7 separate regions of the Homo sapiens genome follow, and all the other regions are linked to region 2. Evidence: promoter capture Hi-C in 16 types of primary human blood cells and fetal thymus (Javierre and others, 2016). All regions are on one chromosome and are shown on one strand. Each heading gives the region's core, a stretch centred on a gene start or on the middle of the fragment in contact. The rest is flanking DNA. Distances are from core to core; before and after follow the strand shown.

Evidence for each region. The method cuts DNA at HindIII sites, captures the fragments that hold promoters and counts their contacts. A CHiCAGO score of 5 or more calls a contact.
Region 1: the fragment with the promoter of ORC5 here is called in contact with the fragment with the promoter of IMMP2L in region 2 in 1 of 17 cell types (naive B cells); the score reaches 5.8 in naive B cells.
Region 3: a contact is called between the fragment with the promoter of PUS7 here and the fragment with the promoter of IMMP2L in region 2, in 1 of 17 cell types (monocytes). The highest score is 6.8, in monocytes.
Region 4: the fragment with the promoter of FBXL13 here is called in contact with the fragment with the promoter of IMMP2L in region 2 in 2 of 17 cell types (naive CD8 T cells and total CD8 T cells); the score reaches 7.7 in naive CD8 T cells.
Region 5: a contact is called between the fragment with the promoter of NAPEPLD here and the fragment with the promoter of IMMP2L in region 2, in 3 of 17 cell types (non-activated CD4 T cells, activated CD4 T cells and M0 macrophages). The highest score is 6.2, in non-activated CD4 T cells.
Region 6: a fragment that was not itself captured here is called in contact with the fragment with the promoter of IMMP2L in region 2 in 1 of 17 cell types (monocytes); the score reaches 8.2 in monocytes.
Region 7: the fragment with the promoter of ING3 here is called in contact with the fragment with the promoter of IMMP2L in region 2 in 1 of 17 cell types (activated CD4 T cells); the score reaches 8.7 in activated CD4 T cells.

The regions. Positions count from the first base shown.
Region 1 is chr7:104,206,532-104,210,342 of GRCh38, forward strand. It overlaps ORC5 (origin recognition complex subunit 5), which reads right to left and starts at 1,482. Exons shown (of 14, transcript NM_002553.4): 1 at 1,302-1,482. The coding sequence starts at 1,373. RefSeq lists enhancers at 1,141-1,330, 1,371-1,450, 1,501-1,660. The HindIII fragment of the contact is 7,936 bases long and covers 1-1,998 here.
Region 2 is chr7:111,560,617-111,564,464 of GRCh38, forward strand. IMMP2L (inner mitochondrial membrane peptidase subunit 2) reads right to left here and starts at 1,876. Exons shown (of 6, transcript NM_032549.4): 1 at 1,235-1,876. RefSeq lists a silencer at 1,408-2,037. The HindIII fragment of the contact is 1,654 bases long and covers 717-2,370 here.
Region 3 is chr7:105,520,249-105,524,349 of GRCh38, forward strand. PUS7 (pseudouridine synthase 7) reads right to left here and starts at 2,023. Exons shown (of 16, transcript NM_019042.5): 1 at 1,804-2,023. RefSeq lists enhancers at 1-535, 850-1,504, 2,788-3,288 and silencers at 1,047-1,192, 1,402-2,151. The HindIII fragment of the contact is 10,027 bases long and covers 1-4,101 here.
Region 4 is chr7:103,073,257-103,077,071 of GRCh38, forward strand. FBXL13 (F-box and leucine rich repeat protein 13) reads right to left here and starts at 1,540. Exons shown (of 21, transcript NM_001394494.2): 1 at 1,440-1,540. The coding sequence starts at 1,514. It overlaps ARMC10 (armadillo repeat containing 10), which reads left to right and starts at 1,884. Exons shown (of 7, transcript NM_031905.5): 1 at 1,884-2,155; 2 at 2,521-2,625. The coding sequence starts at 2,017. RefSeq lists a silencer at 1,471-2,310 and an enhancer at 2,581-2,630. The HindIII fragment of the contact is 4,996 bases long and covers 1-2,425 here.
Region 5 is chr7:103,146,497-103,150,374 of GRCh38, forward strand. NAPEPLD (N-acyl phosphatidylethanolamine phospholipase D) reads right to left here and starts at 2,603. Exons shown (of 5, transcript NM_001122838.3): 1 at 2,315-2,603. It overlaps LOC105375434, which reads left to right. Exons shown (of 3, transcript XM_047421168.1): 2 at 2,522-3,878. The coding sequence ends at 3,324. The HindIII fragment of the contact is 3,849 bases long and covers 1-3,749 here.
Region 6 is chr7:105,686,952-105,691,118 of GRCh38, forward strand. The region is part of intron 3 of ATXN7L1 (ataxin 7 like 1); the gene reads right to left. Among named protein-coding and RNA genes, the nearest start is that of EFCAB10, 110 kb to the left of the region's middle. RefSeq lists enhancers at 1,623-2,298, 2,299-2,974, 2,975-3,650, 3,651-4,167. The HindIII fragment of the contact is 2,609 bases long and covers 34-2,642 here.
Region 7 is chr7:120,949,238-120,953,417 of GRCh38, forward strand. It overlaps ING3 (inhibitor of growth family member 3), which reads left to right and starts at 1,540. Exons shown (of 12, transcript NM_019071.3): 1 at 1,540-1,687; 2 at 1,927-1,998; 3 at 4,067-4,167. The coding sequence starts at 1,660. RefSeq lists an enhancer at 2,083-2,162. The HindIII fragment of the contact is 9,487 bases long and covers 1-4,180 here.

The sequences.
Region 1 (3,811 bases), core at 232-2,731, 7.4 Mb before region 2:
ATAATATAACTATAATTGAAAGCAGTATAAATAGAAAATTAATTGAAGATGCAGTTGTTGACCTCTAACTTCCCTAAATAATGCACCCCTTTAGACAGAGGGTAGTACTTTTCCACTAATGCTTCACAGGCCACCTCAAATTGCCATGCAATATTTCTAGTTGGATGAAAGTACAGTCACGTGTACATTCAAAGATGGACCACATATACAACAGTGATCTCATAAGATTATAATACCCTATTTTCACTGTACCTTTTCTATGTTTAGACACTTTTAGATGCAGACTTATCACTGTGTTACAACTGCCTACAGTATTCAGTATAGTAGCACCGCTGTAGAGGTTTATAGCCTAGGAGGAACAGGCTACACCATACAGCCTAGGTGTATAGCAGGCTACACCATCTAGGTTTGTGTAAATACACTTTCTGATATTCACAGGGATTAAATTGCCTAACGATGCATTTCTCAGGACGTATCCCCCTCACTAAGTGGCAGCAACGCATGACTGTACTTAAAAAAGCAAACCAGAAGATGGGGGTATGAGTATGACCCTGAATTCTCATTCACTCTCTTCGCAGGTAAGATCCAAGTTTGATTAATTCCAATTCTGATTGAGTCTGAATCAAAAAGCACATCAAAGACCACCAGAAAATAGTCAAAAATAGGTTAAATTTTGAATTGGTGAACGCTACCCTCTGCCTATTGAAAGGACTCCCTACGTATCTATGTTCATCCAGACAAGACAAACTCCTCTCTAGGGCATCCTGTGAACTATCAGTTAAGGAGAAAAGTTTACCCTAGACCTCTTCTGGACTGTTACAATTCTGGAAAAGCCAGTAAATTTTTAAACCTGAAGCACTGCTTTGGCCCTTAGTGGCCTTGAAAGCAACCACCTCTCTACACTTGACTCACTCCAACTACCGCACAGAAACGTGTGAACTTACATTTGAATAAATAACACCCTGCAAACACATCTGTTACATAAATGTCATTGGGTTGGGGTAAGATAACAAGCAACTTCTAGGAGCTAATGTGGGCAAACTTCTGAAAAGTGTGGCGTGTTTCAAATACGTCTTAGGCAACGTCCTATAGTGCAGGCCGGTCGCTCTCAGACTGTCTCCTCTTCAATATTCGGAAGAGACTGTGGGTGAAGCTGCAGTACAGAACCACAACACCCCTATTTAACGTAAAAACGGCCTTTTGGCCCTCAATCCAAACACGAAAAAACAAATATTGGAACAGGTCGCAAGACTACCGAAACGTCTGCCTCCAGGATCTGGAAGACAGTTTAACTACAATACCTCTCCAAACAAGGACTGCAAGATGGACACTTGAGACTCGCGACAAAGCACCACGTTTTCCAAGTGGGGCATTCTGGCAGGCACCACCGCAGAGGCCAGTGCAGCCAGCCCACAGGACCCTTGCACAAGACGGAGCCTCTCCCGAGTCTGGCGGCCCACGCTCCCGCCGGAAACCGGACCCGCAGCGTCGTGGGAGGAGCCTGCGCTGCCGGGCTGCGGCGTGACGGCAGCGCGTACGCCGAGCGTCGCCGCCGCTCTAGTCTCAGGGCCGGAACCATCCTCTTCTCGCTGGTCCTGTGCGCGCCGAGGTTTTGCCCATTCTTGGGCTTGGTGGGGATTTCGGGCTGACGCTTTTTCCACTCAAAGGCTAAGGAGACGACATGGAGATGGGCGAATAGGGAAGGGGTGGAAGGGGTTAAGGGGGTCCCGTGGGCCTCCAATGACCCCTGAACCCCGTGCCTTTAGTTTTACCGGCTGGAAGCCCCAAGTTTAGAAACCTTGAGTGCCTAAGAAGACGGACCCGGAGCTGGGGCCCTTAGAGGGACGTGGAAGGCGGACTTAGAAGACTAATATTGTCAAAAGATGTTTTTGTTGTCGTTTTTTTCCCTGACGACGTTGTGGGAAATTAGTGGCATTGAGTACAAAACAGGGTGTAATGGGGTTTAATGCACAGCTTGGAATTACTATTTTTTGTGCAAGCTTTAAACCAGATGTGGAAAGCCTCTCAGTCCTAATGGGATGAAGTCGTAGTGTGTGTTGGTGAGGTTGATAGTAAAAATAATGCTACTTTTAGCATTAGGCTTTCACGTGTATTTATTTGTGAGGCACCTACTAGCGACTAAACACTAGAAGATTCTGGAAATAAGATACAGAAGTAGGCAAGTGCATGGTGGAAAGAGAGCTTGGCGTCCTGAAACCCCTGGGTTGGGACCACTGACTGACTCAACTGCTGAATAGGGGGACTTTGGAATAGTTGAGCCTCAACTTCCTTATCTATAAAATAGGGATAATACTGGCTAGGTTATTGCTAGGAGTAGAAGATCCTGTACATACTACCTGTTATACATAAATTTAAATTGTGGACTTCAATCTGCCCATAGATTGTAGATCAGTCTTAGATTTGTGATGGTCAAAAGGATCTTTTGAGAGTTGTGGTATATAACGTATTAGCTAGTCAAAATAGTATTTTCACAGCAACAATTCAAAAGCATTTGCCCAGGTACTTTTTAATAGAGAATTCTAAAGGTTATAATGGGACCACCCATTAAATTTCAATGTCTCCAAGGGAAGCTGGCCTCTGATACTCTCCTAAGATGGTTATACGTCCGTAACATACTGTGCATATAAGGTATACATATATTATAATCATAACACGACATCTTTATAGCATTCAATAAAACTGACTAAACTGTCTAAAATGTTAGTCTCCCTCTCTATATACTTTATGAGGACAGGAAACACTGTCTTCACAGTTCAATTTCCAGCATACACAGTTAACGCCTGGCAGTTACATAATAAAGATAATTGTTGATCTGAGAGAACATGCCTTACCATCTGGATGATTTAGGATGGTTTCTCAGAGGAGAGAACCTGGAAGCTGAGGCTGAAGAAAAGATTCACCTGTGAGACCAAGAAGGAAATTGTAAACAAAAGAATGTACAGACAAAAAGGGACAAATGGGCAATCCCATAACTGAAACTAGCAAATAGTTTTTACATATAAACCTGGAGAGTAGTAGGAGGTCAGGCTGGGGACCAATAAAGAATTGTAGGCAGAGAAGCAAATGTTGAGATTTGACTTAGAAATATTCCTTCTGGCTACAGTGTGGAAAGTGGAATCAATTTCATTTGTTGAAACGACTATTGCAGTCTCCCAAACAGTGAATAATAATGGCCTCGATAGGCAGCCAAGATGGCCGAATAGGAACAGCTCTGGTCTACAGTTCCCAGCATGAGTGATGCAGAAGACGGGTGATTTCTGCATTTCCATCTGCGGTACTGGGTTCATCTCACTACGGAGTGCCAGACAGTGGGCACAGGATAGTGGGTGCAGTGCACCGTGCACGAGCCAAAGCAGGGCGAGGCATTGCCTCACTCAGGAAATGCAAGGGATCAGGGAGTTCCCTTTCCTAGTCAAAGAAAGGGGTGACAGACAGCATCTGGAAAATCGGGTCACTCACACCCTAATACTGCGCTTTTCCGACGGGCTTAAAAAATGGCACACCAGGAGATTATATCCTGCACCTGGCTCCGACGGTCCTACGCCCACGGAGTCTCGCTGATTGCTAGCACAGCAGTCTGAGATCAAACTGCAAGGAGGCAGCGAGGCTGGGGGAGGGGCGCCCGCCATTGCCCAGGTTTGCTTAGGTAAACAAAGCAGCCAGGAAGCTAAAACTAGGTGGAGCCCACCACAGCTCAAGGAGGCCTGCCTGCCTCTGTAGGCTCCACCTCTGGGGGCAGGGCACAGACAAACAAAAAGACAGCAGTAACCTCTGCAGACTTAAATGTCCC
Region 2 (3,848 bases), core at 626-3,125:
AGTAGTACAGGGAAAGTCTTGTAAATTAACATGTAACTATTGAGAAAATCCACAAAACTGGTGAAAGGCCTACCCCAAAACAGCCATCTCCAATACAATCTCATCATTCTCACCATCCTACTTTTATCAAAGTGCTGATAAAAGTGCGTAGCACATGGTAAGAGAGAATTAGCTATTGAATCAATGAAGGAACCCATTATCAATAAACAATCACTTCCTGTTTTCCATAAATTATGTGGTCACCTATCACTTGAGCACAAACAAATAGGCACGTTCAGGACACAGGCAGCCAGTATCAGAATAGGCAGCCTATCACAGAGGGCAATTCTACTTTTCCTGTGTAAGAATCCAAGAATGCAGTTTTACTACATTCCTGCTTGTAGCTAATCTGAATTTCAACTAATTTAAAACGGTTATTTATATGTGACATATAGGATGCATAATGAGCTCCCAACCTTGTGAGAGGAGCTGTGTTTCATTTCACCATACAGGGGAGAGGGAAGCAGTGTATTAAAGAAGTGATAGAAAAGTCCCACAGAAGAACCAATGAAATAGACCACACTGAAAATCACAGTAAGCCTCAGAGAACTTCAGTGTCCTTTTTGGCAACTTTTCAAAAGTGAATGGAATGCTTGCCAGGAGGTACCAAGAGTGAAAGCCCAGAGAAAAAGGCCCAGCCTGGTCATCTCTCTCCCCTCAAAACATCTTCTTCTGTAAGCTTGAGAGATCCCAAAGAACTTCAACACTTGTAATCTTGTTACTAACTTTATGCTTTGGGGTCCTAAAGGATTTTTTCAGGAGTACCCTTTTAAAATGTAAACATCCCTAGGGGGGTTACTGTTCATTATCAAACAGGACCTGGATTCTTTAGTGCTATGGTCTCAGGGATTAGTCAAAGCTGGCTAATAAGATAGGGGCCGGAGACAGACAACTAGAGAGGACCAATGTTCCAAGGTAAAAACAGGTAAAGGGGAAGTGCAGTTTTCTGTCGGGTCAAGGGGCTAAAAGGGATCCACATGCCCAAGCTGTTAAACTCTATAGACTGTGTGAGGCTGAAAACAGTCCGGGGCCTGGAGCCTGTGACTTTGAAGGTGGGTCCTCCAGTTCCCGATGAAAAGGTAGAATCTGGGCCCAAGTTCCCCACGAGCAGTTCTGGACATCTAGCCCTTCTCTCTCTCGCTCGCTCTCAGGATAAAGTCCTAGGTCCTTCCACCCCTGACCATTCCTTACTTACCCTTTCTCCCGCTCTTCCTCGGTGAGAAGGGGTAAGTGGTTATTTTGTGCCCTCGCCCAATTTGGCCAAAACCCTAAAAGTAAAAAACGACAGACAGACACGTGCTTTAAAATCATGTTGTTCAAGCCTGACGCTCTCCCACCACCTGCCCAACACTTCCAGGCAGAAGGCAGCGCGCCCCCACAGCGCTCCCTCACGGCCAGAGCCGGGGGCCGGACTAGGCCCCTTTGTGAGGACTGGGAGAGGGCGCGTTGTTGGGGCGCCGGCTCGGCGGGGAGGAGCGGGCCAGCTCCGGGCCAGGTGTGCCGCCTGTGGCGCCGGTTTCTCAACCTAGTTAGCCAGTGGCACCAAGAAGAGGACTAGGCTGGGGTGGCCGCCGCACGCGCCTCAGATAAACACGCGCACGCACACATGCTCGCGATCACGCAGGACTCGCGGCCGCGCACCCCTCCGCCTCCCGGCAACGCCCGCCCCGCCGGGGCCGGGGCCGACTCCCAGGGAAGGGTCCCCAGCCCAAGAGACCACCAAGGGTCGGCGGCTACGCGCCCGCCGACCCCTGCCAGCCTCACAGCCCCCCACCCGCCGCCGGACGCCGGGCGCCCGCCCTCCGCACCCGCTGCGCAGCTCAGCCCGGGGGAAGTCCCCGCGCAGACCCCGCCCTCCGCCGGCGGCAAGCTCCGCCCCGCTGCCCCGTCGCGCGCTGGCCGCCCGAAGCTCCGCCCCCGGCGGAAAACTGGTCTCTGGACCGCCCGCCCAGGTCGGGCTCAAAATGCGGCGTGGATCTGAAAGGATCAAACACAACACTAATTCAGCAAGCTATTATTGAGCACTTGCCCTAAGCTCAGCAACGTACTAATGGGGGAGACTACAATAAAGAGCCGAAAAGTCTATGAAACTGTGTCTTCAGCTCTTCCTCTTGTTTTAGAAGCCAGGAAACAGAGAACCCTCACAGTTACTTAAGTACAGGGCAGTAGTGGCAAAGCACCTCACTAGCGATCTCTGGGCAACTCTTCATTTCATTTTTTCCTACTCATGAGCACTCAGGAAAACTATTCAGTTTTGCTGCCTCCAGGTAAAACAAAGTGAGTAACACAGGACAGGCGGTTTACTTGAGAGAAACGGGAATTTCATACTGAAGCTTTTGCCCTCAAATGGTACAAACTCTTTTTTTTTTTTTCCTGAGACGGAGTCTCGCTCTGTCGCCAGAGCGACACTGCAATCTCCGCCTCCCGGGTTCACGCCATTCTCCTGCCTCAGCCTCCCTAGTAGCCGGGACTACAGGCCCCCGCCACCATGCCCGGCTAATCTTCTTGTATTTTTAGTAGAGATGGGATTTCACCGTGTTAGCAAAGATGGTCTCCATCTCCTGACCTCGTGATCCGCTCACCTAGGCCTCCCAAAGTGCTAGGATTACAGGCGTGAGCCACTGCGCCCGGCCGAATGGTACAAACTCTTAACTGGGTTATTACAACCTACAAAGAAACCTTCTTATCCATGTTATTAATTATCCTAATTCAATGTGGTTTAAAATGTTGATGAAAGTACCCAAATCATGGTGCTCCAACAAGCTGGATGCCAACCAGGTACTCGTAAGTACTTGCAATTACAGGTGCGATATTTTCATTCCATATCATCCCAAGATGCCCTTCCTTCACGTGAAGCAGCCAGAAAGATCAACTACCAGATTCCGCATGATTGAGGAATTGATAAATAGAAAGGGAAGACCGAAACCGGCCAAATTTTCCCTTCGAAGTGAAACTTGAGAAACTTGCGTGCATTTTACCTGAGTTCCTTTCTCAGCAGATAAACTGTCAGACCTCCCAGATAGTGTCAAGGAAATGCAACTTTCCAGAACACTACATCTGGACAATGAGGTGCATCTGCTGCCTGTTCACAAACTCCTCTTCCTTACCCCTCCATAATTCCCTGCTATAGAAAGCCCTAACTTTAGTCTCCCTAAGACATGTTTGAGACTGGTCTCCCTGCCAGCATCACCTGCATTAAAGCCTGTCTTCCCTGGCAATACTCGTTGTCTCAGGGACTGGTTTTCTTTGCTAGGAGCAACCCAACCTAGGCTGAAGCCCAGGCATTTAGCAGCAGTGGCACCTAGAAATACTGAACAGACATAAAATACTTTTTTTCTCCTTTTCTTACTCCTCCAGTTGTATCTTCATTATTTCTGTCTCTATTCTCCCTCTAGATACTGCCAAACTACTCTGTGCACTTTCAGATCACTTAATACTAATGTAAATAACAGACATTCTGGCACTCTTGGTTCAAAATTTATTCTAAAGGTTTAAGAATCTACTCAGGGTCTTAAATAGCCTGATAACTAAAATTCCAAGAGTTTCCTAAAGAGAGCAAAATTGCTCTCCTGTGAAGGGGATATGTCCCAGTTTTTCTTACTTGTCACTGAAATAATTACTGCAAAGTAAGCTCTTTTCGGCCAGTGCTTAAGGACTTAATTTCAAGAGCACTTAGGTGACAGGACCACCCTCATCAAATAGCAGTCAAGAACTATTTGGTACCATGACCCCAAATTGAATGGAGCTCCTGGTCACTAGGAACTGACAGTCTGGGATGGAATGTAGGTGAATAAACAACAAAGACAGGT
Region 3 (4,101 bases), core at 773-3,272, 6.0 Mb before region 2:
GGAAATCGAGACCATCCTGGCTAACACAGTGAAACCCCGCCTCTACTAAAAATATAAAAAATTAGCCGGGCGTGGTGGCGGGCGCCTGTAGTCCCAGCTACTCGGGAGGCTGAGGCAGGAGAATGGCGTGAACCCGGGAGGCGGAGCCTGCAGTGAGCCGAGATCGCGCCACTGCAATACATCTCCAGCCCTCAAGCTGGGTGAATGCTTAACGAGTGGATGGAGGTGCTGCCTCTGCAATACATGTGGGCGACAGAGCGAGACTGTCTCAAAATAAATAAATAAATAAATAAATAAATAAATAAATAAATAAAAATACAAAAATTAGCTGGGCATGGTGGCGTGCACATGTAATCCCAGCTACTCCGGAGGCTGAGGCAGGAGAATCGCTTGAACCCAGGAGGCTGAGGTTGCAGTGAGCCAAGATCGTGCCATTGCACTCCAGCCTGGGTGATGGAGTGAGACTCCGTCTAAAAAAAATAAATCAAAAAACAAAGATATGTTCAAGGCCGAGTGTGGTTGCTCAAGCCTGTAATTCCAGCACTTTGGGAGGTCAAAGCAGGAGGATTGCTTAAGGTCAGGAGTTTGAGGCCAGGCTGGGCAACACAGCGAGACCCTGTGTGGTGGCACATGCCTATAGTCCCAGCTACTTGGGAGGCTGAGGTGAGAGGATTGCTTGAGCCCAGGAGTTCAAGGCTGCAGTGAGCGATGATCACGCAACTGCACTCCAGCCTGGGCAACAAGAGCAAAATTCTGTCTCAAAAAAATTAAAAAAATAAAAATAAAAAAACCAAAAACATGTTCACAAGGAGTTGTTAAGTACGTACTGTTGGCTACTTTCCTAATGTTTGAACCTAACAATTGCCTAACCAACCCCTTTTCAATAGTGTTGTACAGTCTGATTTTCGACAGATCCCTCAATAGTCGAGGCTCCCCCAGGCCAATGGGGCATAGTCATTTCATAGATGATTAGAGGCTTGGGGATGGGGGGGAGGGAACCTTAGTAACCCTTTATTTTTGGAATGGAAAAAAAAAGTAGTCTGACGGGACCAAATATTTTAAAAACTAAACTCTTTGCCAACCCTACTCGGCAGGCAACGAAGGTGTGCTTCTAAACACCTCTGCGCAGGGCTGACGAGGAGGACTCGAATTTCAGCTTGCACAGCAGCACCTCCATCCACTCGTTAAGCATTCACCCAGCTTGAGGGCTGGAGAAAGCACTCTGAGTCTGCAGCCCGTCCACTCCTACTCTGGGAAATGCATACAAAGCAAGCAGTCCCCAGAGCCCGCGTGGCGCCTAGTAGGCTCCCAGTGAGCGGCGACGCAGGACACAGGGGTGGAACACGTGGGCTGGACCCACAGAAGGCAGGCGCGGCGAAGCAGTGGCACCGTGAAGGGCTTCAGGGCCAGTGTTCCTCTGACGGAGGGACAAGAGTTTAGGGAGCGTCCGGGGCAAAGAAAGGGAGGAGTGGGAAGGGGGCCCCCGGGGGACAGCGCCGCGCGGGGAGGAGGGGAGCGCTCGGGCGCGGCGCCTCCGGACGACTGGCCGGGCAGAGCGGAGCGGGGAGCGGGGAGCGGAGAGCGGCGCCTGCACCGCCGAAGCGCAGGACCCACTGGGTTCCAACCGTGCTCCCGCTGGCACGATCCATAATGGAGGCGCCGCGGGCTCTGACCACTGCGGGGCCGCCTTCCCAGTCCGCCTTCCCAGTCCGCACTGCCTCTTGGGGCGGGGCCCTGGGGCTGGGGCTGGGGCCAGGGCCAGGCCGAGGAGCCCCGGCGGCCGCGGGGAGGCCGCGCACTTACCCGGAGCCTGGGAGCGCGGGCGCGGCGTGAGCTGGGCGGCGAGGTGGCCAGCGCTCTGGTTGGGACGCAAGAGAGCGGCGAAGGCCACTTGGATGAGCCAGCGGCTAGGGCGGCCAGGCAAAAGCAGCGCTTTCCGCGCGGAGGACCAGATGCGCTCCAGCCGACTCACCGGCGGCCGGGCTCGCACACGTGCGGCGCAGCGACGCGCCGCGGCCCGACTGGACCCGCCCCGGGGGCGGAGTCCGCTCCCTGCCGCCGGCCCCGCCCCCGGCCCACCCACTCGGAGCGGCCTGCAAGCCAGGGAGCGCCCCAACGCGGACTCCCAGCCTACGCGCGTTCACCCTGGACCTTCCTCGCGACCGCGCCTGAGTCGCACCAGCGGCAGAGAGCGATTTCACCAAGCATCTAAGAGTTCTTTAGATCTTTAGGAAGTCTAAGGCAGCGATTGCCTCCTTTGGTGTTATATTCTAAGTGTTTCCTTCACATAGTTGTGGCCCTTTCACGTTGCACCGACCACGCAGTTGACAATAATGGAAAGAGAATCACTTTAGGGACTAAATATTGTTCTACATTTGATCCTGGGAATGTAGTGGATCTAAAAGCACCATCTTCCTACTTCTTACCGCTCTGGCTTGATGGCTTGCCATAGGATCTGCTTCAAGAAACCGGATCATAGGTTTTTTTTGTTTTGGTTTGGTTTGGTTTTGACAGAGTCTCGCTCTGTCGCACAGGCTGGAGTGCGGTGGCGTGAACACAGTTCACTGCAGCCTCGACCTCCCAGGCTCAAGCAATCCTCCCACTTCAGTATCCCAAGTAGCTGGGACTACAGGTGCATCCCACCGCACCCAGGCTAATTTTTTTGGGGGTGGGGGGTAGAGACAAGATTTCACTATGTTGCCCAGGCTCTAATAGTTTTTTTGCTTTTTGTTTGTTTGTTTGTTTTTTGAGACGGAGTCTTGCTCTGTCGCCCAGGCTGGAGTGCAATGGCGCGATCGCTGCTCACCGCAACCTCCGCCACCCGGGTTCAAGCGATTCTCCTGCCTCAGCCTCCCGAGTAGCTGGGATTACTGGCGCACGCCACCATGCCCGGCTTATTTTTTGTATTTTTAGTAGAGTACGGGGTTTCACTATGTTGGCCAGGCTGGTCTCGAACTCTTGACTTCGTGATCCGCCCGCCTCCGCCTCTGTGTTGAGATTACAGGCGTGAGCCACCGCTCCCAGCCTCTAATAGTTTTTCCGTTTTGTTTTATTTTGTTTGAGAGAGAGTCTCACTCTGTTGCAGGGTTCAAGCGATTCTCCTGCATCAGCCTCCCGAGTAGCTGGGCCTACGAGTGCTTGACATCATGCCAGACTAATTTTTTTGACGGGGTTTTTGCCTGTTGGCCTTGAACTCCTGACCTCAAGTGATTTGCCTGCCTAGGCCTCCCAAAGTACTGGGATTATAGGCATGAGCCACCATGCCCTGCCCAATTTGTTTTTTTGTTTTGTTTTTTACACAATGAAATATACTATTACCGGCCGGGCGCAGTGGCTCACGCCTGTAATCCCAGCACTTTGGGAGGCCGAGGTGGGCGGATCATGAGGTCAGGAGTTTGAGACCAGCCTGGCCAACATGGTGAAACCCCGTCTCTACTAAAAATACAAAAAATTACCCAGACGTGGTGGCACGCGCCTGTAATCCCAGCTACTTGGGAGGCTGAGGCAGGAGAATCGCTTGAACTCAGGAGGCGGAGGTTGCAGTGAGCTGAGATCGCACCATTGCACTCTAGCTTGGGCAACAAGATGGAAACTCTGTCTCAAAAAAAAAAAAAGAAATATATTATTACCATACAATTCAGCAATTACACTCCTTGATATTTACCTAAAGGAGTTGAAAACTATGTTCACACAAAAACCTGCACAAGTATGTTTATAGCTGCATTATTCATAATTGCCAAAACTTAAGGACGGGCCGGGTATGGTAGCTCACGCCTGTAATTCCAGCACTTTGGGAGCCCGAGGTGGGCAGATCACGATGTCAGGAGTTCAAGACCAGCCTGGCCAAGATGGTGAAACCCCCATCTCTACTAAAAATACAAAAATTAGCCAGGCGTGATGGTGGGCGCCTGTAATCCCAGCTACTCAGGAGGCGGAGGCAGAAAATTGCTTGAACCCAGGAGGCAGAGGTTGTGGTGAGCCAAGATCATGCCACTGCACCCCAACCTGGGGGACAGAGTGAGACTCCGTCTCAAAAAAAAAAAGACCAAGATGTCCTTCAGTAGCTGAATAAACTGTGCTGTATCCAAACAATGGAATATT
Region 4 (3,815 bases), core at 290-2,789, 8.5 Mb before region 2:
TCAAATGGACAGCTAGAGCAGAATGGACAGTTGCTAAGCAACTTGCACTTTTTCTTTTTTACTTAATAATATGTGTTGGGAGCCAGCCATGTGGTGTATGCCTGTAGTCCTAGCTACTTGGGAGGATGAGGTGGGAGGATCAATTGAGCCCAGGAGTTTGAGGCTGCAGTGAGCTAGGATGGAGCCACTACACCCTAGCCTGGGTGGCAGACCAACACCCCGTGTCTCAATAATAATGATGATAATAATAATATGTCTTGGAGGACATTTCTTCTTAGTAGGTACAGATATACTTTATTCTACATAATGCCTCATTCGCTTAGTCACTCTAGGTCATTTACTATTTTTACTATGAAACAAAGTTATAATGAATATCCTTGTACATCCTCCTGAACACATGTGCAAGTATTTCTCTAAAGTAGATCCCTAGAAGTAGAAATGCTTGGTTAAAGGGTACATGTATTTAACATCTTAATAAATATTTCTCAATTACCATCCAAAAAAGAGACGGGTGGGGGGTCTCTACCAAATTGCCCTCCCAACCGCCTAGGAGCGTTACTACCCTCAGGTAGGACCTCCTCTTTCTTTCCCTAGACATCTCTCTCCCTCATTCTCCACATAACGTATCTTTGCTCGAACCTCCTACTGCACCAACATCCCCATCCCCACTCAAACACGCACATTCTTGGTAAATATCTCACCAACTATTTGTAGAGAAAAAAAGAGGTCAACAAAGGCAAATGTTCTCAGCTTCCTACCCCCAAACCTACAAAACCTAATGTCTATCCCCTTCCTGTCTTCCTTCCCTACTCTTATAACGGCAGTAGGAGGGCAGTCCTTCCTGTTGTCTAAAGGCAATCCTGGTTGAGAGGGTCCTTACCTTCACAAAGGGCTGACTACACTGACCAAAGGTCTCAGCTTCCACTCTTCCCTCCGCTAACCTCCATCTATTTTCTGCCCTCACGGCTCCATGGAAACCTCAGGCTCACCTTGGGCAGAATCCAGCTCCTTATCTTAGGTGACTAGTGCCTACTCCCTACTTCTGACAACATTCTTCATAATGCCAGTCTGCTGATTTTCCTCCTCAGGCTCTCTGGCACTTCTTTCTCACTCCTCCACTCCTCAGGTACTTCTTGTCCAAACCTTAAAATCTGAGTTTGGGGTTTCCGATCTGGGCCTTGTGCTCATTCCCCCTGGGAGATGTCACCCATTCCCCACGTGCAGCCACCATCACCCTCTGTTTTCTCTCTAATCAGCGTCTTCAGCCCTGATCGCCTACAAGTCCGAATTTGACTTCACTTTCTCGCATTCTGCCCCGCCTTCCCTCCACTCCTCCCCAATCCCGAAACCTAGTCCCTCCTCCGGGAAGTCTTTCCTGACTCCTCCCCCTTCTAACTCCCCACCGACGGTCTGTGTCCGCTGCCACGCGTGTCCAGTACCTCGCAGACCTGAGGAATGTAGTTCTCCTTGAAGTAGTTCTTCAGCCTCGGGTTGGCATTGCGTAGCGAGGCCATGGCCCAAGGCCTGACGGAGAAGCTGCGATAGTACCCTCCCCGCGCTGGGACTAGGGGCCGGGCGCGTGCGGGCGTTGTCCCGGCAACCAGGGGGCGGGGCTGGGCGTGGCACCGCCCCGCGCTCCGCTGCCAGGGGCGGGAGGGAGGAATGGTTGCTTCACGCCCCGGGGGAAGAGACGGGAAGCTCGGCTCTGGGTTGCGGGCCCCGGCGTCTCCGCGTGGGGCGCACCGTCCGACCCCCCCCTCCCGGTGTGCAGCGCCCCGCACCGCCCCGCCTCGCCTGGGAGAAGCCGCCGGGACGCGCCGGGCTGGAGTGGGCGGTTATAGGCTTTGAGCTAGGCCGTTTCCGGGAGGCGGAGCTCAGACCCCATTTCCTTTCTCCACATCCAGGTCAGGTGGCGTTTGCTGTGGCGGCTAGGCCCGCGTGCGCTGGAGACCTCCGCGCTGGCCCCCGCGAGCCTCCTGCCCTGGCCCGGCGCTGCGGCTCTGCCGCGGCGGCAGCATGGGTGGCCCCCGGGGCGCGGGCTGGGTGGCGGCGGGCCTGCTGCTCGGCGCGGGCGCCTGCTACTGCATTTACAGGCTGACCCGGGGTCGGCGGCGGGGCGACCGCGAGCTCGGGATACGCTCTTCGAAGTCCGCAGGTGGGACCCCGGGGTTTCCGGCAGGTGGGCGGGGACTGGGCAGGGGGGCTCCCCAGGCCGGGGTGGTGGCTTGCGTGTGCTCGGGGTAAAATGAGGAGCCGAGCTAGAGGGAGAGGCAGTACTTGTGTGAGTGCAGGGTGCTGCGCCGCCCCCGCCGCCCCTTTGCTGACTATACTGGTATGAAAACTTGCCCTGGCTTTCCTGCCTGAGCTCCGCGTCACAGCGGAGGATTAGATTTCTTAAAAACCTGTTGATGGCCTCTCATTTTAAAGCTTGCTCCGGGCCTTTGTGTAACTAAAGGGATTCTCCCGATTGTGGAAGGGCTGTTGAGGGGCCCAGAGCCATAGGTCAATCTCTGCTTGCAGGTGCCCTGGAAGAAGGGACGTCAGAGGGTCAGTTGTGCGGGCGCTCGGCCCGGCCTCAGACGGGAGGTACCTGGGAGTCACAGTGGTCCAAGACCTCGCAGCCTGGTGTGTGTTTTGGAAATGGGAACAGTTGTCTGCGCGAGACACACCCTCCCAGCGGACAAATGCATGATTCGGTTTCTGTCCAAAAGTTGATCGGTACATTAAAACCCTCCAAAGGCATGTTTCACATCATGGAAGCTGTTAGGGAAATAATTTAAAATATCATATCTGCCATCCAAGAAACTCCTGTCCACAATTGTAGAAGAGAGCTAAACAGCTTCATTGTTGAATAAGCACAAACTAAATTGCCTCACACATCACGGGCAATTTGCTAATGGGATAGCAGGAAGAATTCTAATTCCTTTAAATGTAGCTGGACAGATAGAACCGATTTCATATTACATACGTGTTCTCAAGATAAAAAATAATTTGTCCTTAGGTAAGAGGACTTGACAGTACCATTTGCTACATGTAGTTTATCCTGAATTTACTGGTAATTGGGGTGGTTGTTATCTAATTGCCTTTATCCAGAGGAAAAATAAAAATATCTTTATGATGTGGAACCAGGTGCCCAGGCTAAAAACTCACAGAGTTGGGGAGATTGGGGATCTATCTTCCTGGAAGAGTAGGTTTCAAAGAGTACGCTTTCGAACAGTAGGCTCCAAAGCTTTTAAGAAAGTCTTTCTTGGGCTGTAAAACTGGCCAAATGCTTATTTCACTTTTAAAAAGATTTACAGGCTGGGTGTGGTGGCTCACACCTGTAATCCCAGCACTCTGGGAGGCCAAGGCAGGCGGATCATGTGGTCAGGAGTTCAAGACCAGCTTGACCAACATGGGGAAGCCCCATCTCTACTAAAAATACAAAAATTAGCCGGGCTTGGCGGTGGGTGCCTGTAATCCCAGCTACTCAGGAGGCTGAGGCAGGAGAATCACTTGAACCCAGGAGGCAGAGGTTGCAGTGTGCCAAGATTGCACCATTGCACTCCAGCTTGTGCGACAGAGCAAGATTCTGTCTCAAAAAACAAAAAACAAACAAAAAGATTTACATTTGTATCAAAGAAGCAGAAAAAGGAGTTTTGTTTTGTTTTCAGACAGGGACTCCCTCTGTCACCCAGGCTCGGTGCAGTGGCGCAATCACAGCTGCAGCGGCGCAATCACAGCTGCAGCCTCCACTTCCCTGGGCTCCTCCCACCTCACCCCACTAAGTAACTAGGACTACAGGTGCACACCGACACCTGGCTAATTTTTCCAAT
Region 5 (3,878 bases), core at 1,353-3,852, 8.4 Mb before region 2:
TAATCTGGGAAGGTGCCCAAATTAGATAAACACAAGAGTCTGCACCTTCAAGGGGAAAAATGGATTGTTCCAGGTAGCAGGCACAAACTGAGTTGTTTTTCAATCAAGATTTTGAATTATGCTGATCCATCTACATGCCAGACCTGTGCCTCCAGAGCCAACAGCACTGGCCATTCACAACCTGTTACCCACAGGCAGGGGTGCAATCTGTGAGTGTGTTGCTGACCAACGCTTGCTAATCCACACCCCTCCACTTTCGCTTCATTGGAACCCCGCTGTAACAAGAGTCTGCAGTGTATATATTCTGCTGAAGGCTGGGGCTGCTGAGCTAAGGTTCCTTGGCCAAATCACCAGACTCTCCCAGGCTCTTGGTGTCCTATTTTCCTCATCTGTGGAACAAGGCTCATATTTTATGTCTATAAAATCAAACTCTCTCTATATATATACATATATTTAAAATATTTGAAAGAGCTTTGTAAATGATAAAGTTATAATACATTATTTAACCAGCTGAGGTTGCAGAAGACTATCTCTAACATAAAACTGCCCCTGGGGATATATGAGTTCGTATGCAATCTGTCTCCAAAGTCTGTTAGTAAAATACTTAAATACACAATAAATGGTTAATAAATTCAAAAGACAAATCAAGCAAAGCACTATAAATTGTAGACAGAATTATTCAGTAGTATAGGCGTTAGAATGAAATATTACTTGAATCTTATGCTGGAAATCACATGGGTGATATTTTAATGCCAGTTTTATGCATGCCCTCACTGGCCTCCAGAATAAAAGTGCTCTTTAACGATTAATTATACATACAGTTCATTTCCCTAATAATACTTCAATGAAAACACTTTTTATGTGTATGCATTTCAACCTAAAAAGCCCAGATCAACAGTCCTCCAGCTATAGCTATATTCTTATTTACAAAGTGTAGAAAGCAATGGAAAAACTCACTATATCCACAGCTATCCATCACCACAAAGAAAAAGCAGAATGAAACAACAAAATTAAAGGCAAATACTGCTTTTCCAAACACAGACTAAATGTTCATAAAAATCCTCTCAGTTTACCAAACTCACAAATACTCAAAGTAACATAATACCCCTTTCGAACAAACACAAGAATGACTGTATCAACTAAAGTATAACCAAAACCCTGTGATGGAATGCTTATGCTAAAATGTTCTTCATATAGTTATAACTGGACTAATTTTAAAATTAGAATTTTGTAACATAGAATTTCTACAATATAATTTGGAATTCTGAGTGAAAATAAGGGTATGAGAAATACACTAAGTATTTTTATCTCTTGGAGACTTACCATAATTCTTGTAGCAGGAAAGCCTGCAGAATGTTAACAAAACAAAATCTCTGAAAATCCTGACTATATTTTCAGTTGACTTGAAACAAATTTAACCCCTCAATCTCTCCTTAAATTATTATTTTAAATAAGTACTTTTACCCTAAATTTCTTCTTTAACAGACCCAGTATTTTCTTGCAACAAAAATCACACTATTGTGGGATATAGGTAATCTTCTTTTTAAAGATTACATAACTTCTTTCTAAACGATGTCCATGTCTGCGGCTAATTCATAACCAATGTAACTGAAAATAGAAATGGAAATGTTAGAGATTTCCATTTTTTAACAAACATGGGAATTATTTCTCAATTTGAAGAACTGCATCTCAGGAATGACTTCCTGGACAAATTAATCAGAATTATCAAGTAGCAAACATTTCATGCTAAGCCAAAGCCAACCAGGTGAGTCAGTCATATTATAACATGTATATATAACAACGTACAGTAAAGGCAAAGACAAGAACTAAATGACTTTTTAAAAGGCTGTTAAACTTTACTCACTCCCTTAATATTTTCCAGGTTTAACTGACGTATAATGAATGCATGTGATCCCGGAACCCATGGAAGAGTATCTACCATATCGAGCTCTAGCTTGAAAAAAAAAAAAAAGGAAAAAACAAACAAACAAAACAACAACAACAAAAACCTATCTGAATACGTGTTCTGAAAAGCCCACAATAATACCCAATTTATAAGAAGCAAACAACCACAGAACAGAAAACTCAAGAAAGCACAGCCTTCCACCACCCCTCCCCAGCTAGCCCCATTTTTTTTTTTGCTCTTCATTTCCATTCCATAGTTAAATAAGTACACTTATTCCAAAATAAAAGGGGAGAAACCTGTTGGAATGGATTTTTAGAAGATAAACACTATAGATGAAGCAACAATAAGTTGCTCGGAGGAAGTTGTCGACCCATTCATTTACATACAACCAAAAGAAGATAAACCCACATGTATTCCTATCAGTGAAGATGCAACCTGGTAATTTGCAGGGAAGATAGGATCTCAAATCCCAGACAGCTACTCTCCCAAAGAGAAAAAAAATAATGCTGTGGCTCTTCACCGAGGCAGCTTCAGAGATGCAGGCTCCGCAACTCGCGAGGTGCGAAAATTCAAATGAAGCCCTGTCGCTCACAAGTGCGGCATCTCCGAGATGAGGGAGGGCTCGGGGACGGGAAACCCACTCTCAGCCCGCTCCACTTCGCCGAAGAATTCCAAACCACCCCAGGCTCAGCAGTGTGGATTGCTCCGCCCAGAGACCGTGGAGGAGGCAGCAGAGAGGTCACAGAGCACAGCAGGCGGGAGAAAACCGCCTCCCGCGAGGTCCAACAGAAACCACGGAGCTCCGGACACTCGGGATCCCGGGCCGCGGGCGCGCGGCCAGAGCGGCGGGGTGCGAGCGCGGGGGTGCGGACTCACCTCGCGCTTGGGGTGGCCGGGAGCGCGCGCCGCCTCAGTTCCGCGGCTTCCGGCCACAGAGTCCCCGCGCAAAGCGCCGCCGCGTAGCGGGAGGGGCGACCGCGGCAGGCGCTCGGGTTCTTCCTAACCCGAGCCCGCCGCGCTGGCTCCGCCGAGGACGCCAGCAGCTGCAGGCAGCGCTTCAGCTCTCGCCGCCTCGCCATCGTTGGGGCGAGTCGTCGCCGGGTCACTCCCTTATTATGACCTTCGAATCTGACAGCAGGGCCAGCGGTGGCCTCCTTCAGGCTGCCTCTCCAGCCCTTACCAAGATGGCCGCCCCTGTGGGCCGGGGCGCCGAAGCCATCTTGGTAAAGGAAGCGCCTGGGAGCACGCGGCCTGCCCCGGCCCGCCTCGCGACTCAAACACTCTGCAGGGACCCTCCTAAGATCAAATTGGTTCCCCCCGCTGTCCTAAGCCAGAGGCTTACTTTCAGATCGCATGAACGCATTCCTGGACACCAGCCACAGTTGCTAAAACTAAATGGGATCCTGCAGACCCATTGACGGACTGTCATAGCCAACTCAATCACAGTCGAGAAGCATTTGAATACTTACAGCCTATGGCGCTAGGATCCTGGTAGCGAAGAAACTAAACTCTAATTTGAAATGTTGTACAGTACGTATTGAATATTAATGGGAGCACGGCATTGTTCACTGTGTGATCGTTTACTTTTAAAATGATGTCACAGCCCCCTGGTACACACGGTTCTCATCTAAATTTGCATCTTTTTTAACGCTAGGATAACTATGAAAGAGCATACGATTGTGATTCTGAGTTTCTTACTGGATTTGCTTTTTAAACTGCAGAATGAAATTAGTTGTTTCAAGAAGTAAAGTACAGGCATGTCGAAGTAAAATTCAACAATGGGTTGTTGGGCAAAAAGATTATAAAAGTCCTGGGGTGTGCCAGGGTCAAAAAAAAAAAAAAAAGCTTGTCCCTGGGGTTATCTTGGCAAAAAAGAAACCACCACCACAGGTTCTAAATGCAGATAAGACTGGCAGAAAAATGCAGACCAAACTATTCTGCATTTTGAAAGTGAATGTGCCTGTGTGACATT
Region 6 (4,167 bases), core at 88-2,587, 5.9 Mb before region 2:
CCTGACATAGTTTCTGGAGCCTACTGGTCCACAAGCTTCCCTTACTCAACCTACCCCTAATAAGAGTCTCTCTCGAGACAGGTGAGCTGCCACAGTCACCTGAGAATCATCATAAGCCATATGAAAGCTAATTCAGACTTTCATAGCCACTGATGACTTTTAAACATATTCCTATCTTTCTCTCATTGCATTTCCTTTGACTATGCACCCACACAGAGATGGCGCCTGGTTCTATAAACTGATGCATGAGGGGAATAAACTCACAGATGAATCTGTACCCCATGGAGGTTCCTGCAATGTTCTGATGCTGAGGCAGGACCAGGCTTGGCAGATTGGTGTTATGGGTTAAATTTCTCCACTTCAGACTTCATATGTTGATGTCTTAATCCCTAGTACCCGAGAATATAAGCACATTTGGAGAGAAAGTCTTTGAAGAGGTGACTAAGTTAAAATGAGGCCATTAGGATGGGGCCCTAATCCAATAGGATAGGTGTCCTTAAGAAAAGGAAGGGACGACAATGGCACAAGTCCAGAGGGTGGATCACATGAAGAGGCGGCAAGAGGGCAGCCATCTGCAAGCCAAGAAGGGGCCTCAGGAGAAACCAAACTTGCTGGCACCTTAATCTTGGACCTCCAGCTTCCAGAATCATGAGAAAATAAACTTTGGTTGTTGAACCCACCCAGGCTGTTTCATTTTGTTATGACAGCCCTATCATACCAAGACCAATACCTAAAAACCATGCAAGTTCACTAGATCAGGGAGAAAAAGTATAGGATGGAGGCAGAGGCCTAGGTGCAGCTCGGATGCATCCTCCTCCTTGGGCTGTGTTTCAGAGCAGTGTGACAGAGCAGGAATGTGGCCTGGCTTCAGCTACCCGCAGAAGAGCATTCTTTCATGCATTCCCACTGACCATGAGACCCACACCACTACCTCACTGACACCATACCCACTCACCCCAAGGCTTTAGTCATACAAAGAAAAGAGCCATTCTATATTGTTCTTCGGTGCTCTCATAATGTTTAACCATGCTTTTTACTTAAAGAATTCCAGGAACTGGACTGAAGAGATCCAAAATATGGAACCAAGGTTGCGGAGTGTCCCACCTCAGGAAGGAATGCTGAACAACTGATTTATAGCCTTGTTGTTGCCGGCTAGACCACCAGGTGGCCCATGACTCAAGATAATCATCACAACCAGATACATTGACTTGCATACCCTAACCCTCACATGCGTTGCCCAGCCCAGCCTGCATACCCTACCCTGATATCAATTCCTGTACTTCGCCTAATAAAAAAAATCCCAACTGGGGACGGACACGGTGGTTCATGCCTGTAATCCCAGCACTTTGGGAGGCTGAGGCGGGTGGATGGCTTGACCTCAGGAGTTTGAGACCAGCCTGGGCAACATGGAGGAAACCCCATCTCTACTAAAAATACATAACTTAGCTGGGCATGGTGGCACATGCCTGTAGCCCCAGCTACTTGGGAGGGTGAGGTGGGAGGATCACCTGGGTCCAGGAGGTAGAGGCTGCAGTGAGCCGTGATCGTGCCACTGCACTCTAGCCTGGGCAACACAGAGCAAGACCCTGTGTCAATTAAAAAAAAAAAAAAATCCCAATCGGCTGTTTTCAGAGGGTCAGTCAGGGAATTCTCTCTCTCTCTACCTTATGCCCTGGCGTAAGCGCCAATGAAGCCTTGTCTGGGAAGACTCTTTTCGCCTCATTTCTATTGCACCAAAAGCCCAAGAACCCATGGTCAGTAACAGCAAGGTCAAGGTGGGACAAATCTCCTAAACCCTGATAACTGGCAGTCTGCCTGCCCTGAAGTCCTGAAGCTGAAGTAGTCTACAAGTACACGGAGCAGGTGTGAGTAGCTGGTCTGAAAATGTATGACTCCAGGTCATAGTCTGGGAGTGATCAACTCCTTTTATCAGCTTACTTTCTTGTTTCACCTCTTACCCAAAAAGTAATCTGATTACTGGTTCTAATTAATGTATATGTCATGGCTGTTGTTCCAGAAAAGACAAGACCTTGGGGGTGAATGGACTATGGCAAAGTGAGGTCGCTGTTAGCAGACTCCCAAAGGTTTGACGAAATTACACAGACCATCTGGCTCAGTGCTGCCTTTGGCTGGGAATTCACTGGTCTCTAGGTTCTGCCTGGGTGCCTTGGTCTTCCCGGAGTGTAGGGTGGACAGAACCACTCCCCTGGGGCCAAGAGAGAAGGAGTGGGCTCACAAATGCTCACTGCTGCTAAGGTGCCCAGCTGCCCCGGATCAATTAAGTTTAAACAGCAGCTATGTCACTGGGGCTGGGGTGGAGGGAAGAATCAAAGTGAGGAAGGAGGGTGTTTCTAAGATATTGGCAGGCCAATGTCTGGAGGGCCTGGGAGGGGCAACGTGCTCTAGGAGACAGAGCTGAAAGGCCTTTACTTTCCCAAGGATGGCAGGGTGGGAGGGTTTAGCTCATTCAAATGCAAAAGCCTTTCAGTATTTACTGCCACTCCTCCCAGCTCCAACATAAAGGCCTATAGGTTCTCTTCACATCTTTCCATTCACTTGGGCTGTGGGGGTGATTGACACAGCTGGGGGCAGCCCCCATAATCATTCCTAGCTGAGATGCATACAAACCAACACACACCTCAAGCTTGACACCTTACGAAGGTGGGCCGAAAGTCCTCCCGGTCCCAACCAGACATACGGAGGAGGCACGGGGAAGTGGAACAGAGGCCCCACACACAGGGGCAGATTTGAATCAAATTAGAACAAAGAGTCCCTTAGCATCGTGTCATAGCCAGTTAGCCCAGAGCAAATGGGGGCATGAGGAGGCGAAGGTCCGATGGATCATGTCCGAGCCCGAGTTTTAGCTTCTCAGCTCCCCTGTATGAGCCAGGCCCCAAAGCCAGGCTTTTCCTACTAGGACCAAAGGGCTGGACTTGGCCCCCACCAGCTCAGTGGGGCCAGTGTGAGAAAGCACAGGACAGACTCTAAACGTCAAAGGCCTAAAGCAAGGAAGCCTCATCATTATTCTCTGCAAGGTTAAAGGAGACAGGGCACTTCTTTTTTTATTTTTGAGACGGAGTTTCGCTCTTGTTGCCCAGGCTGGAGTGCAATGGCGCGCTCTCGGCTCACAGCAACCTCCGCCTCCTGGGTTCAAACAATTCTCCTGCCTCAGCCTCCCGAGTAGCTGGGATTACAGGCATGTGCCACCATGCCCAGCTAATTTTTGTATTTTTCGTAGAGACGGGGTTTCTCCATGTTGGTCAGGCTGGTCTCGAACTCCCGACCTCAGGTGATCCGCCCGCCTCAGCCTCCCAAAGTGCTGGGATTACAGGCATGAGCCACCGCGCCCAGCAAAAAAAAGCATTCATATGAATGAGAGAAACATGGAGGAGAAAAGAAAGCCTCTCTTGGCAGCACTCAGCAGTTAGAACTATGTCAAGCCTCATCCTAATGGTCACATTTACCACCTTGGAAATTTCCGTTTTCACTGTCCGTTCTCATTCATGTGATGCTGGGGGTGGGGTTGGACCCATCTGTGTGGGACTCAAGGTCTTGGATCTAAGCAGACCCGCTCCTCAGAAGGCCTTCCGTGAGGCCTAAATGATGTTTGTCGTCTTCTCCTTCTTTTGCGATTTGTTTAGTTTAAAATATTTAACCCGAGGCACAATGAAGTGTCTCATTTACAAGGTTCTCCCGGACCATTAGACTGGGACTCCACATTCATTATGCTGATGAACGCGCTACTTACTCATGCAAATTCCAAGAGCGGCAGACTCAGAGATGGGAGGTGCTCAAGGTACGATATCAAGGGCTGATTTAATTACACAGCCATTCAGTGGGACAAGCACGGCAATTTTTAGCCAACTGTTCTAGTAAATATTACGGGAAACCCTTTTATAGAGTGCTAATTCCGGCTTAGTGTTTTCGCTAAGCTTTAGTTCTTACTCAAACATGCACACGGGCCCCCAAAGATGCTACCACCAGGCCAGAAAATCACACAGATAAAGCATGAGCCCATATGCCATCTTGCAGTCAATCATCCTTTTAAAAATGTTATAAATGTCTGCATATCACTGTCATTTAGGTGGGGACAAACTAAGGTCCAGTAACTTCCCTGTGTCTGTTCTTCCTCCGTCCCCCTCCCCCGTGACTCTGAGTCCTGCAGAC
Region 7 (4,180 bases), core at 290-2,789, 9.4 Mb after region 2:
TTAATGGAAAAAATGAGAAATAAGCAATACTGAAAAGACAAACGCTGAGAATTTTCTAGAATTGTTGCAGGGCACCAATCCTGAAATTCAGGAATCCCCTCAAATCCTAAGCATAATTTTAAAATTTTAAGGAAAGAAAAGGGAATAAGGAAGGAATTCAGACTTAGATCACTACAAAACTGCAAAAAGATGTCAAAGAGATGTTAAAAGCAGCCAGAAGAAGGAAGGATGGGAAACGAAGAAAGGAGGAAAAAAAGAAGGGAGAAAAAGATCGAAAGTACTTGATTTTCGATGGAAGTAATGAAAAACTTAACTAGAAACTATAAAATTCTAATTCTTATTAGGATCGAAGTAAGGTTCCGTTGAGATTCATCATGATTCATCATTCACGACAGGAAAGTTTCCTGCTTAAGAGCAGTGAAAACCTTGAGTACAAGAGTATGTAATGGAGAAGGAAAGCAAGAAACACACACACACAGTTTCAACTGCAATTTGAAAAACAGAAAATGAACAATAAATTATGAACTAATGACAATTTCCCCAGAAAATCGAAAAGTTAAGAAGAGTGGAAAATAACAATATCTAGCATTTATTGAGTGCAAGAGTTTTTAATAAAAAACAATTTAAAAAGAAACTGAGTAGGGACGTACTAAATATATCACAGGAAAACATTTGCTGGGAGAGGTCGAAAAGTAGAAACTAAAGAACGCCGAAGACAACCAACCTCGAATATGGACTATTTACTCAACATAAAGTTACTGCTATTAACAGCCTATTAGAAATCAAGGCTGCATCCGTAATTCATGGCTGCTCACTGTGATGATGAAGATTATTATTATTATTATTTGCGGATGCAGATTGTATGTATAGATCAATTACATTAGAATGACGATTAGATGGACCGCAAACTAGAATATATAAGTGGCTACTGACACTATTTGTGCATCTTTTAATCTGGGAAATGTATATTCACTCCATAGTCTCAGTATAAACTATTTTAAAATTACACGTAAGCCAACCAGGTGTCTCTTTTATATTTTAGAGTGAATAATGAGGATAAATTCCAGTAGAGAGTTCTATTTTAAGCAATCCAAATTCCCCGAACTTTGCTGATTATTCTAGTGTTTAGAACCTTTGCTATTTGCCTGGCACTTCTTGAAACCCATAACTCACAAACGCCGGGGCATGGAATCACATCAAAGAACAGGTGAAAAGTTGTTCCTAGTTGTGTTATGCAGGTGCATACAACTCCCGCCATTCTCTGTGCAAAAATCAACAAATAAACAGAGGCACCGCATTTCGGATTCTGTTACGCACTGTTTGCAATGGCGCCCGGTATTCGTAGTTTCTGCGAGGGGAGCCGCCAGCGCGCCAACCCTCGCTGAGGAGGAAGAAAACTACATTTCCCACAGAGGCACGGGGGCGAACACCGGCCGGGCTACGTCATTGCTTGAACCAACCAATAGCAGCTCCGGGCGGCAGTGAGGCAAGCGCCTCAGGCGCCAAAGTGGTTTTTTTTTTTTTCTTTTTTTTTTTTTGCCGGAGTCGAGCGGGTGCTGCTAGCGGAGGCGCCATATTGGAGGGGACAAAACTCCGGCGACAGCGAGTGACACAAATAAACCCCTGGACCCCCTTGTTCCCTCAGCTCTAAGGGCCGCGATGTTGTACCTAGAAGACTATCTGGAAAGTGAGTGCGCGGCGCTGGCGGCGGCCGCCAGTGGGACGTGCGGGCGGGCAAGAGCGCGAGTGGACGGGCAGCGAGATGGCGGGAGGGAGGGGGCGGCGGGGGATGTTTCTTTCTCACGGTAACTGGCAGCCTCGTTGTGGGCTGCCGGCCCCCTCGACCCCCCTGACGCACGCGCGCAGTGACGTAAGCGCGTATTTCGCCGTTGGCCCCGCCCCTCTGACGGACTCTCCCTTTGACAGTGATTGAGCAGCTTCCTATGGATCTGCGGGACCGCTTCACGGAAATGCGCGAGATGGACCTGCAGGTGCAGAGTAAGTCGGCGCGTCTACTACTCCTGTTCGCTGCGCGCGTTCAGTGCCAGACTTGCTTGTCATCACTGCTAGCGCCTAGTGCTCTTTCACTGTCCTCTGGCTCACTCCGCTAGTGCATAAGGAGTTGTCAAAAAGAACTGGCAGCCCTGAATCTCGCCTTCCCCTTCCCTCCCATGCTACTTTTTTCTGGCTTTTGCAAGAGCAGGAGGCATTGGGACACGTGTATTCCTTTCTAGAATGTGGGATTGTGCAAAAAATATTTCTCTACCGTCATTGACATAGTTATCTATGTTTCAATGGACGTCAGCATAATAAATGTTGAGATGTCGTCTTGAGCCTTTTCGTATCGAACTTAGATTTCAGCATTTATACTTATTTTAAAGTTCATCCTATTCACAGTTTTTCAAGAGTGGAAAGCACAGAAGCAGAGGTTATATATAGCTCTTTAGAGACCATGGCAAATGTCAAATTTTGAAAACTTAGTTACACATTAGATACATTTTAAATTGTAACAGAATCGTCATTTTCTTGGTTAAAATGAGTGACAGAAATTAGATTTCACTGTAAAGTTTCTTATGTGCTGTACTAAAAATTTTAGCAGTTAATGAACATTTCTTTTTCTTTCAGTGATAGCTTGGTAGTCTCTAGGACTTTTTCCCCAAATTAACTTTGCTCTTTCATAGAGCAACGACTATAAATAGGTGGCTCAGGGACCACCTGCTGCAGCTAAGAACCTGTCCTTTTCACTGCTCCTGGCTTCTCTGCCCATGACCACACACCCACTTCTATACCCTTTGCTTATGAGTATATTTTTCCGGTAAGTTTCAGGTGGCACATAATAAAAAGTGGTGGCATGGAAGCCACTTTCTGTTCAGTGGATTGTGATATGAAGTATGAATTGTGTGTGTGGTTCTCCAGCTATCTCACAAATTCATTTTAATTTTAGTGTAGTTGAAATGCTGAAGATTTGCTGAAGTAGTGTTCTCTGCAGGACTGAGCACAGACATTGATGTCAGATCTGAGTTTGTTTTAGGGCTTTACTAATTTACTCATTGACTCTGACTGTATTATCACTTGTGAGGGGCTTACATTGTCTATAAAAAGAGAATCATCCAAGGATTTAAAATGTTACACATGGATTAGAATTTCTAGTATCTGATACAAAGTAGGCATTAAATAAAGGGTAACTTACTTTAAATTATTTTTATATTTTATTGTTTAAAATTTTAAATTCTCTTGTAATTTGGGCTTACATTATACATATTACAGGCTTTTTAAACGTGCATTTCTTTACAGTAACTAGAATTTTCTAAAGTTAATAGGTATTATGGATTAACAGAACTGTGTGCCAAATAAATTCAGAAATGCTTATTTAAACAAAGGAACATACTTCTAAAAAATTAACCATAGGACTTCATAGAGTCTTTAAAAGGCTATTGTGGACTGGAAATCTCCAAAAGAAGTATATTATGAAAAGATTTTTCTCAACTTACATAACAACAGAATCTTTTTTATTAATTTTTCCTTTTTTTTTTTAGCAGACATCCAATGAGATGATTAGTCTTGGCATATAATTTGGGGAAAACTTACCTAGAATTAATGTTTAAATGATTGTACCTACTACTTTCAGTTGGGATATGACATGATGAGATGTTTAATGCCATATACCAAATATTTTTATCACTTTTTCTTGTTAAAAGAAATGTGAGGATTATCTAATGGTGTTTTAATTGTGTTTCGGTACATTTGTCTGATTTAATACCATTAGCTTTTGACCTAAAGGCTTTATTGCTCAAAAATTATAGTATAGAGCCTATCTACTTTGGCTGTTGGAAAAAATTTTGAAGTAACAAAAACAAAAATAATCTGTCAATAAGGAAAATTGTAACTTTTTAAAGGAAGATAATTGAGGCATTATATATTTACACAATCAAAGCATAACATATTTAAGTTACTGGCAAGGTGAAAGAGTGTGTATTGTCAGATTTTTTCCCTCCCTAAATCAAACCATGTATATTTAGTATATGAATTTGGTCATTTAATATGAATTTTTTTTATTATGTCATAGATGCAATGGATCAACTAGAACAAAGAGTCAGTGAATTCTTTATGAATGCAAAGAAAAATAAACCTGAGTGGAGGGAAGAGCAAATGGCATCCATCAAAAAAGTATGTGCAACAC